Linked DNA regions of Homo sapiens: regions 1 and 2 are each linked to region 3. The links are contacts of gene promoters, found by promoter capture Hi-C in blood cells and fetal thymus (Javierre and others, 2016). All regions are on one chromosome and are shown on one strand. The core of a region is centred on a gene start or on the middle of the fragment in contact, and the rest is flanking DNA. Distances in the headings are between cores, read along the strand shown.

The links. Contacts are between HindIII fragments. The CHiCAGO score rates a contact against its expected background, and 5 or more counts as called.
Region 1: a contact is called between the fragment with the promoter of ST20-MTHFS here and the fragment with the promoter of MESD in region 3, in 1 of 17 cell types (non-activated CD4 T cells). The highest score is 7.1, in non-activated CD4 T cells.
Region 2: a contact is called between a fragment that was not itself captured here and the fragment with the promoter of MESD in region 3, in 1 of 17 cell types (fetal thymus). The highest score is 7.7, in fetal thymus.

Annotation. Positions count from the first base shown.
Region 1 is chr15:79,920,914-79,924,437 of GRCh38, forward strand. It overlaps ST20-MTHFS (ST20-MTHFS readthrough), which reads right to left and starts at 2,179. Exons shown (of 4, transcript NM_001199760.2): 1 at 2,126-2,179. It overlaps ST20 (suppressor of tumorigenicity 20), which reads right to left and starts at 2,839. Exons shown (of 3, transcript NR_037653.2): 1 at 2,539-2,839. ST20-AS1 (ST20 antisense RNA 1) reads left to right here and starts at 1,858. Exons shown (of 1, transcript NR_028330.1): 1 at 1,858-3,524. RefSeq lists silencers at 1,997-2,106, 2,127-2,196, 2,207-2,256, 2,877-3,026 and enhancers at 2,557-2,736, 3,167-3,216, 3,418-3,524. The HindIII fragment of the contact is 4,343 bases long and covers 1,695-3,524 here.
Region 2 is chr15:82,046,633-82,050,135 of GRCh38, forward strand. No RefSeq gene overlaps it. Among named protein-coding and RNA genes, the nearest start is that of MEX3B, 2.4 kb to the left of the region's middle. RefSeq lists an enhancer at 1-635 and a silencer at 316-635. The HindIII fragment of the contact is 2,871 bases long and covers 1-2,832 here.
Region 3 is chr15:80,987,694-80,991,673 of GRCh38, forward strand. MESD (mesoderm development LRP chaperone) reads right to left here and starts at 2,126. Exons shown (of 3, transcript NM_015154.3): 1 at 1,886-2,126. The coding sequence starts at 2,098. RefSeq lists enhancers at 1,207-1,821, 1,810-2,089, 1,822-2,435, 2,075-2,369 and a silencer at 2,120-2,399. The HindIII fragment of the contact is 12,917 bases long and covers 1-2,756 here.

The DNA.
Region 1 (3,524 bases), core at 929-3,428, 1.1 Mb before region 3:
AAGTGCATACATACTCAGGATTCCTTTGGGAGGATGCAATTTCATTTATATGAAAAACTGTCACTACCACAGTCAGCTCTAATAATATTTGATATCACCTGGTAATAAAGGTTTGTCGGCTGGGTGCGGTGGCTCACGCAGCACTTTGGGAGGCCAAGGCGGGCAGATCACGAGGTCTGGAGTTCGAGACCAGCCTGGCCAGTATGGTGAAACTCCATCTCTACTAAAAACACAAAAATTAGCTGGGCATGGGGGTGGGCACCTGCAGTCCCAGCTACTTGGGAGGCTGGGGCAGAAGAATTGCTTGAACCTGGGAGGCGGAGGTTGCAGTGAGCTGAGATCATGCCACTGCACTCCAGCCAGGGCAACAGAGCGAGACTCCGTCTCAAAAAAAAAAAAAAATAGTAAATAAAAAATAAAGGTTTGTCACCATATACTCAAGAGTACTTCTGTTATTCAAATCTCCTAACTGGGAGTTACAAATATCTCTGACTCTGCTCTTGTAGCTGTCAGAGCATAAAATGCCCTTCCCACTCTTTCCTCACTTCCAGACTCCAAAGCCTCCTCCTCAAAGTTTGGCCCCTCTACTTTGGACTACTGTTTTCTTCCCAGTTACTGCGCACTGACAGTACTTTTGTTCTCTCTTTCGGCAATTCACCATACACTTTCTAGTTTATTTATCTGCATAAAACTTAGTTCTCAACAAGACTATAACTGCCTTATGAACAGGAATCAACAGTTGAGAATCTTCAGAGTCTCCTATAACATCATGTAAGAGCTCACTAAATGTTTGATTTAAATAACTAGGCTTAAGAGTAATAGGCTGGGCATGGTGGCTCATGCCTGTAATCCCAGCTCTTTGGAAGGCCGAGGCGGGAGGATCACGAGGTCAGATCGAGGCCATCCTGGCTAACACGGTGAAACCCGTCTCTTCTAAAAATACGAAAACAAAAAATTAGCAGGGAGTGGTGGCCAGTGCCTGTAGTCCCAACTACTCGGGAGGCTGAGGCAGGAGAACGGTGTGAACCCAGGAGGCGGAGCTTGCAGTAAGCCAAGATCTCAACAGTGCTAAATGCATACATGGATTATCTTACTAAATTTTCATAACTCTATAGAGGTAAGTGCTATCATTATTTTCTCCATCATAGAGGAAGAAAGTGAAGCTCAGAATAACTTGCTCAAGGTCATACAGGCCTGGGCAAACCCAGGGCCTGAATCCAGCAAAGCTCTTAACTACCTCAGAACACTGCACAGTTCGAGCCCTGCAATACTACAGTCTATGAATGATTTCGATTTCACTAAGTTAGAAATTTGAATTTCAACAGAGACATTTTAGCTAAAAGGTAAAATTTTAAAGAGGATGAATTAAGAGAATTTCCCACAGACATCTTTATAATAAAATGAGGAGAAAAGCCTCCCATTTCCTATTTATGAAAGTGATATTAAGGTGTGTGTCACAATTTCATCAAGAAGTGGCTTATGACAATACAGCTTTGGTTTAGGTATTAAAATAGGACTCTTTTCTGCCCATAGGAGGACATGGAAATGAAGGATAGATGTGATAAATGTCAATTCAGAGCTCTGCAAAATGCCAGACTCAATTCTTGTTTTAAAATATCAGAGCCAGGGCTCTTGTTTCACCCTTGATTCTTCACACAAAACACCACCATCCTCTGACCTCTTCACACAGAGCAAGCTTTACCCCACTACCTAAAGGGGAGTGCTGATCCACATGGTCTCCCCATCCACGCTAGAAATTGATCCCAAACACCAACCGCTGCATAGACGTCGGCGACTTTGGTCTGCACCCCCCGAACTTGGTGATACCTCATCAAGCCAAACCCCTCCCCAACATCCAAAATGCCCAGACCAGCATCCGAAAGCTGGTCTCCTATACAAAGCAGAATCCCTGCCTACAAAGCAGTTTCCCACCTCCGACTCCTCCCCACGGCGAACAGCCCTTCTGGATCCAACCAACCCACCAACCCCAATAGGGCCCAGCACCCAGAGGGTCCACAATCCAGAGAAGGAGCTACAAGCCCTGTACTTGCAAGCCTCGAACCCCCAACTCCAACTGACCTCCCCTCTGCCAGAGCAAGACCACGAGTACCCGCCGAGAGCGGACCTGGCTGGCTACACAAAGCCAGGCGCCCGACCAGAGGGATCCTCCGGGACGTCCTCCGCCACCGGGGCGTCCCCGCCCAGCCCCGCCCGGCGCCCGGCGCTCACCAGCTCTCCTCCCCCTCCTCCTAGCCTGACAGACGCTCCAGGTCGTCTAGCAAGCCGCCCTCCCCCGCCGCCAGCAAGAAGGTGGCGTCTCGCAGCTCCTCGTTATTCGTCCGCCTCGGGTCCATCCGGCCCCGCCGCCCGACTTTGCGCTGAGACCCAAGGGGAAGCCCCGAGGGGACCCCGCGCCGTAGGAGGGAGTGGAGGAGCCGGCGAACCGCGATGGAGCCGGGGCCCAGCACAGCGCGAGCGGCTCCTCGGCTGTTCGTGCTGCTTCCCCAGCTTCTTCACCGGCACCTGCAGCTTCCGCACCTCCTGGTCCGCGTTCACGTTAGAGTTAACGTCCTCCATCCCGGCCCCGCTGCCTCCGCCGCCCGCGGCCCTCTCGCTCTCGCAGCAACAAGGGAAGAGCCGGAGGAAAGAGGCGTCCACGCCGCTCACTCCAGCCGAGGCCCCCGCATATAGCAGGGCCAGGCCCCGTCGCCAGGGTTCCCCCAGCGCGGGTCCCGAAGCACCGCTGGCCACAGATGAACCGCCTCCTCAGCGCAGGTCCGGGATTCGGGGAGGCAGCGCCAATATCCGGTCTCTGCAGCCATCTTCCCTCCGTCCCTCCGCCCACCGAGGGTCGGCCCTGTAGGTGACCTCAGAGCGTCGGGGATGGGCGTGGCCCCGTCGGGCGCTAAGAAGACCTAGCGCAGAGAGGACCGCCGAGCTCCCGACGGGGCGGGGCCAGGTGTGTGAGGGGCGGGGATTGGACCCGGAGGGGCGTGTCTGGACTGCCGGCGGAAGTGGAACGCGGCCTGACCTGCGACGGAAAGCCACTGCAAGCCCGGAGGCGAACAGAAGGCATTCCGCGAGCCGGGCTGAGTTGGTGAACACGGTCCTCGTTCACCCCGCCTATTGGTCTGGGCGTGTGGGGTATTCTCCACCCACTTATACGGCGTGTGGGACCGACGGGCCCGTCCTGCCCGGCTCCGGTCCGGATCTCGAGTAGGCGCTCAATGGGATTCGGGGAGACGTAGTTTACTTTGTTCAGCAAATATTTAACCGATGCCTATTTTAATGGGAGATTGTTTCCGCTGGCGGGAGCCTCAGAGACCGCCTGTGTCCTTTAAGAAACCCGAATTTCAGACAGTTAAGAGAGGTCTAAGGTCAAAATAATAATCATAATTTCTTCTTACTGGCCAGATACTATGCTAAGCCCTTTTTAATTTTATTATTATTATATTTTGTCACCGAGGCTGGAGTGCAATGGCCCGATCTTGGCTCTGCAACCTCCGCCTCCCGGTTTAAAGCGA
Region 2 (3,503 bases), core at 147-2,646, 1.1 Mb after region 3:
GGCGACCCGAGCCCTCCGACACGGAAAACGGGACTCCAGGTCTTGGGGCGCACGGGCAGAGTGACTCCCGGCGCGGGTTGTCCACCTGCGCGGGAGCGCACGAGACACAAAAGCACACGCCCGCCCACACTGGCAACCGCGCGCGCGCGCGCCCGCGCCTGCATTTCTGTCTCCTTGGGCAGCACTTCGCCCAACTGGCCCTGAAACTGAGGATGGGAAAGCTAAAAGCTGGCTGCCGCGCGAGCTCGGCCCGCCCGGCCGCTGGCGACCTCTGGAATGCATGGCACCAGTGTCCAGCACACGCCCGGCGCCCGGGCCGAGACCCTGCGGGTTCTGACACGCGCACGAGCGCCGCGCCGCCACCGCGGGGACGCAGGCCACAGCGCCAGCGGGCGGCGCGGGCGTGCGCGCCCGCTGTTCCCATCCCTCCCCTCCGTGCCCCGCGGCCGAGCATGCGCAGTGCGCGCGAGGAGCGGGCGGGCCCTTTAAGGCGGGCGCTGCGGAGCGCGCGCCGGCCCCGCCCGCGGCCCCGCCCCGACGGGAGGTGAGCGCTCCCTGCCCGGCCGCTCTTTGTGCGCTTCTCGGGGTGGGGGTGGCGGCAGAGGGAGGTTGCGACGGCACTTGCCGGCGAGGACGGCGAGCTGCGCCCCCTCCCGGATCTCCCAGGGACCGTCTCCGAGTGCGAGAGAGAAGGAAGGAGGATTTGAGGGGCGGGCCGGGGCGGTGCGCGCTGGTCCTCTCCGCGCGCATCCCCCTCCGCCGCCCACTAGGGCGGACGCCCCTTCGGGCCCCGCGCGCTCTGCTGTCCTTTGTTCCGGGAGCCGCCGGGCTCGCCGCGCCCTTTGCGTCCCGCTGCGGATCGTTCCGCAGAGCGGCTGGGCCCGCGGTTCATAGAGTCGCCCAAGATCCTCACAGAGGGACGTCTTCCCAAAACAATGAGGCCATGCGGCCGCAGCCGCACACGGGCTGACTGGGGAGATCTCGTGGTGCCGCGGGGCGGTCCCGGGGCTCGAAGGCAGAGGCTCCCCTAGGTGTGCCCTGCCTGACCCCGGCTACAGGAACGAGCGCTGTGGGCCTCGGTTTCTCACCCGTAAAATGAAGAAAATAATCCCCGCCTTTACCACCTCGTGGGTCGTTCGGAAGATTAAATGCGACAGTGGATGGGCGCGCGCTTACAAATCAGTAGACAGTTCCGCAAGCGCCTTTACTTTTGAGAACGCGGTGGTGCAGCTCCCTTCACCGCTTGCTTACCTGGAGCTGTCTTGGGAAAGAGGTGCTGATTATTTCCTTGGGGAAATGGGTTTAGAAGCCACTTACAGTGGTTATTTCCTCAGGATGTTTACGTCAGCTTCCCGGAGCCTGGTGTGTGTTTTTCTTAAAAAGGAATGTTCGATGGGAGGAGGCAGGTGGGAGGATGGTGCCGAGTCCTCCGTGAAAACCACCACTTAGAGCTCCAGTAGGAAATTACTGTATTCTTTTGACCCGGTTTATGGACTTGGAATCCAACTAACTTGGGAATGAGGGTTCTTGCCGAGATGGAGGGTTTTGAGTAAGGGGTCCTGGCTGGGGAGAGCCAGAGATGAGGCCCAGCCTCCCGCGCTCACGCAAGGCCTGTAAACAGAAAGCAGACTGGAAAGGCGCTTGGAGCATTTCCATCTTTTTAACACAAAGGGCTAGTTTCTCGCCTCTTAGCTCTGTTTCTTTGAAATTTCATAGCCTTCGGATTGGGCCTGCTGAGGTTTCTTTTTTTTTTCCAAGTAGAAAATATGGTGACAGTAAAGTTGTTCCTCCGCTGATAAGGAGCTGTGCACGGATAATGGGGTGTAGGGAGAGGTTGCTTCTGCTAGGGAGCTTGGCCGCTAATAGTTTCAGACCTGCCATAACTCCTTCTCCTTGCATCTACAGCGATAAGAATTCAGATGGATTAATTCTGAAACGTGTTTAAACTTAGAGGATTGGATATTTCAGAGGAGTCCCTGGGTGGCTGGGTCATTACCCGGAAGGTGAATGCAACATTTCTCCAAGGTGACATGTTTAATGTCATTCTTCCCTGCTGGATCCTGAAGGCAGGACTTGTACTTGGCTGTAACTGCCAATGTTCAATGAAATCATACATCTTCACCCACATGAAGGATAAGCTGAACCCCTTACCATAGGAATTCATGGAAAGCTGCCGATCCTGAGGTGCCCATGTTCATGTAGCCCAGGTCACCCTCCACAGAGAGGAACACTTGAGTAAAACCTATACAGAGATCCGCATGCTTTTCTGAAGACACCCACAAAAGCGAAGGCACTCTCAAGAGCATGGGAGGGTGGTGAGAGTGATAGAAGCAGTTACTATGTCTGACAGATCTAGTTTCCAGCCCCAGCTGTTCTTCAGTGTTGGCTGTCAAAAGAGGACGGCATCCAGCTTCCCACCTACCTCATAGGGTTGCTTTAGCGAGACGGATAATGATAGCAAAAGCTAACTCGTAAATTCCCAGGTACTCAGCAAATGTAGTTGGCGCTTTACTCACAGCTACTCCTTGCCTTCTCTATTTGTATACCTTACTGACTGGTCAGGATATTTTCCGACACTTGACTGCTGTTGTAAAAGTAACAATCCAGAAATTTTAATTCTCAGTTAGTGGCTTTAATAAGCCAAGATATTGTAAAACTTGCAAAGTCCGGTTCTGTTTTTCAATAGATAATACATCCTAACCCCATAGTTTCTGGATAGACTTTCCCAGGCTCCTTTAGGACCCCAGAGCTTAATTACTTTTCCTGATGCAGAACACATTCCCTAAGGACTTCTCGATGTGGCCATAATATTTTTTATTAGCACAGGAGAGAAGCTTGCAGAATGAGGTCTGGCAGTATAATAGAGAATTTCAGTTGTCATAAAATGAGAAAAAGTAAAGTTATCACACAAAAACAAGATTAATGATGAGGCAACCTTGTTTTGTTTCCAGATGTCTCAAAACTATTTTGTGCACATCTTGCTTACTTTTGCAAATTAAATAGCTTGCAAAAGAAACGGAAATCTTCCTGTGAAAACAAACACATGCTCAGTCAACTCATTTAAGATTATTGAGCACCTCCATACTGTATTATAGGCACAGAGAGAAGTATCGATTATACTGAACTGAAATGAACAAAGGTGGCAGAGGGGCAGGATAATGTCTTTTCCTTGAATACTAGTGATGTCCAAACCCAGTCACACAGAGAGATAAGTGCCCAGATAGTAGTGAGTCGGCTTAGGGTCCTAGAAGGGCTTCCCAGAGGAGGGGATACCTGAGTTGTGCTTCCAGTGAATGTGGTGTGAGAATGAATTGAGACTGGAGCCTAGCACAGTGCATAGCATCTAGCAGGAACTCCTAAATGCTTATTAAATGAGTGAGTGAGCCAAGCTGCAGCATCTTGAAGGTGTAACTTTAGGTATGTACAGGAATCGCTCAGTCTCTGGGAAGCAGCTCAAATGACACCAGCCACAATGACATGATTTTGAATAAAATTAGTAATCA
Region 3 (3,980 bases), core at 876-3,375:
GGCCAGGCTGGTCTTGAACTCCTGACCTCAGGTGATGCACCCGCCTTTGCCTCCCAAAGTGTTGGGATTACAGGCGTGAGCCACTGCGCCCAGCCAACCTGTCTTTTTACTACATTATGTGGCCCTGCTATTCACAAAATCAATCAATTGCCCAGGCATGGTGGCTCACGCCCGTAATCCCAACACTTTGGGAAGCCAAGGTGGGAGGACTGCAAAGGCCAAGAGTTCAAAACCAGCCCAGCCAACATAAGGAGACCCTGTCTCTATAAAAAATAATTTAAAAAACAAAATCAACCATCAAGTCCTGTTAAAAGTATAAAAATCTCACATTTCTCCCTTCTACTCTGCTCCTGCAGTTTCTAGCTTAATCCACGTCTTCCTCACTATCCTTCATTTGCACTTCTGTCACCAACATGTGTGGCAGTACAGGTAAAACAGTTCAAAGAACTGGCTCTAAAAGTCGCGAAAGAATTTGAAACTCAGCTAGCTTGCTGTGCGATGTGGAGCAAGTTATTTAACCTCTTTGTGTCTCAATGTCATCATCTAGAAAATAGGGATAAGTACCTCCCTCATGGATGGGGTAAAAGGATTAAATGAGATAATGTGTTTTTCTTGGCCTTCAAAGTCTCTCCCCACTCATCCATCCTGTTATCTACTGTTCCCAGTGCAATCTTTGTTCATCTCTTCAGCACCCTCTTCGTCTAGCTCAGGGTCTGAGTAGGTCAAGGGGAGGATTTCTCATGAGGTGATGTTCTCACTCTGGCAGATCAAAAGGCTTTATTTGCTGGAGTCCAAAAAGAGACAAGGAGATTGCAAGGGAGACGGTGAATGGGGACGTTCTCTCTACACTCAAATCTATCCCAATCTTTCCATCAGCTGTTGATGACCACATGAAAACACAAGCCTGCATTCTTCTAGTCAGATGCATCAGGTGGTATTTTAAACTCTTGTCTGAAAGTCTTTCCCTTCTCCCGTAACACACACAGAGATAATCACAAAATAACAAAACATCAGTGTTGGAAGGAATCTTAGGACCCATCCTAACCTCCTCATGTTGCAGATAAAGAAACCGAGGCCTAGAAACTAGACATAACCTGCCCAAGGTTCCACAGCTATGCAAGTCAACCAGGACGATACAATCACCTTAGGAAGGGGAAAAGGCAGCAATGTGGTTTTGGCCAGTAATCTTTACCTTAAAGCGTATTACACACTCCCTGTAACTGCACACTCCGGTGCGTCCAAGTGACAAACCAGAAAACTTACTCTCCTTTGAACAAAAAGCGTGAGTTTCACGATACAGAGCCATTAGCCATTGATACTTCTCCCCTCAGTAAAATAAATCCACCCACAAAAAGCACAAAATTCCCAGCAGGGACATATACCAAAATAGGAAGTCTAAAATTATACTGATTTAGAAGACAGCTGAGATAACCATTAAGGAAGACCATCTTCACTGCAACCCACTCTCCCACCCACTCACCGCAAAACAGAAGGAAATGCTCTTTAGTAGATTGGGAAAGGTCACTCTCCCTGTTTGCAGGGCTCACTGACCACAAGAATCAACGCAAAGACAACCAGGGCACTGAAGGGTGAAGGGAGAGCAAAGCTGAACAGTGAGGGGCAGATCCGTGATTGAAGTGGTTTGAGAAATGGCAGGAGGAACAGGGCACTGGAATGACAGAGGGCTGGAGCGAGGGTCAGCAGGGCGCGCGGGTCAGAGGAGGAATGGAGGGTCAACAGTGGCTTCAGTGGGTCAGTAAGGATTCAAGGCATGAGTAGAGGAGGTTAGGGGGTCAGAAAGGTCCCAAGACAGAACAGGTAAGGGGTCATAGGGAACAGGGTCCCGCACAGAGAAGAGCCGGGAGGGTGTGCGCGCGCCGCGGACCTCCCATTGCTCCAGAAGACGCGCCATGTCTGCATCATTGTAATCGCGAATATCCTTCTTCTTCTTCCGGGGAGGTGGGGTAGACTCGTCGGGCGTCCCGGGCGAGCCTTCGGCCGCGCAGGACCCAGGCGGTGGTAGCAGTAGCAGCAGCAGCAGCAGGTCAGAGGCACAAAGCAGGACCACGGCCTTGCGCGCCCACCTGGAAGCCGCCATTTTCGCTGCGCCGCGCAGCGCCCTAGACGCGCTTACCCGACCTGCGCGGGCCGGACCCCGCCTTGCACACGCCTTCCTGTCCGCCTTTCCGAGGCCCCGCCTCCCGGCCCTCGCTAGCCTACCGGGCCCCGCCCCGTACCATTTCCTAACCCCCGCCTCTGGAAGCCCCGCCCCTCCGCCATTTTGGCCCCGCCCCACTGGCTCCTCCTCTTGGTCCGGCTGAGGCGCTCTGTCCCGGCTGGGTGGGTCCCTGAGTGCTCATTTTTCGTTTTCCGTCAGAGGCCGACCTTTTTCTCTGGAACGCACAAGCCAGGTCCAAAAGTTCCTTCAGGGCCTCCAGGAACCACTAACCAACGTCCCTGTTGACCTCAGTTTCTCGCCTGTGAAATAAATTGGAACTGGAAGTTCTGGAGGCTGCCTCGGCTCTAAAAAAGCCCATTTCTGGATGTCGGACGTTTATCCTCAGTCTCTTGCAATTTCCTTTGAGAACAGCCAGTTAAAAAGAAGTGAGTGGCAGGTAGGGCAACTTTTTTCAGAAAGTCATAAATAGTTCGAGTCCACTGCTTTCCTCATCAATAAAGAGGATTCAGTTCAACCAGCTTTCAATATTTGTTTTTTTTTTCCAAAAAGATCATTACTATTCATCCAAAAAAAAAAAAGCTTGCCTTTCTTTGATTTCAACCTAATACTGTAGGCTCTAACTAATCCTTTTCAAGGCTGAATCACGCTACTTTTTGTTTCTTAAAAAGATTTTGGCCAAAGATGCTTTGAGATTCTTCTTGTTTTAAACGGCTCATCAGCTGATGTCTTTAAAATGTTTAATTACATAAGACCTTAAAAAACAAAAAACAAAAAAAACCAAAGGCCGCACGGTGGCTTAAGCCTTTATAATCCCAGCACTTTGGGAGGCTGAGGTAGGACGATAATTTGAGTTTAGGAGTTTGAGACCAGACTGGGCAATAAAGCAAGACCCGCATCTCAAAAACAACAACAAAAAACGCTTCATTCTTTATACTGCTGCACAGTTTTATTTGGTATTGTTAAATTAATAGTTTATTTTCCTATTGATGGGCATTTATTACCAATTTTTCTGCTATTACAACAAAAAAGAGCTGTAGTAAACCTTATTCAAGCCTTGTTTGGATAGGATTAGTAGGCTGCATATAAAAGAAAACTGACTTTTTAAGGTGGTTTAAACAAGATAAAAGGTTTTATTGTGATTGACTTTTCTTTCACAGAAGCAGTGTAAACTCGAAACTAGGGCTGGTATAGTGGCTTCTCAGCCATCTGGTACTCAGCCTCTTCCTCATCCTTCTATCATATTAGCCTGTGGCTTCCACCCTCAAGGTCAGAAATTCCAGGATGGCTCCTGGAGCTCCAGTCATCAAGATGACATTCAACCAGAGGAAGGGAGAAGGCAGGCCAAACCAAGCACACCTTTCAAGTGGAGTCAACTTCTTTTAAGCAGCCTACTTGAACATTGCATACATTTCTGTTTACATCTCATTGGCTGGAACCTAGCTCTCCAAGGGAGGCTGAGAAATTGTCTTCTAGCTGTATACATTGTCATCTCAAATGAAATTAGGATTGTTATAAAGGGAAAAGAATAAAGTGGAGGTTGAGTAGGCAACTACGCCTGCTTTCCTTCACTCTTAGGACCAGTGCAATTTAAATTCTCTCACACCGTAGGAGTGGCTGATATTCTACATATTCATGCATGCATCTGTATGTAAACACGCTAAGCTATGACCTTTCCTATTGACGTTGAGCAGAAACAACTCATAAGAAAAAGATTTTTTCTTTTGTGAAATCATAGGGGAAATGTCATGAGCTTTCTCCCCAGAGCACATTGCTCCACCCAGTGGCTTGGAGCCCTATCCTA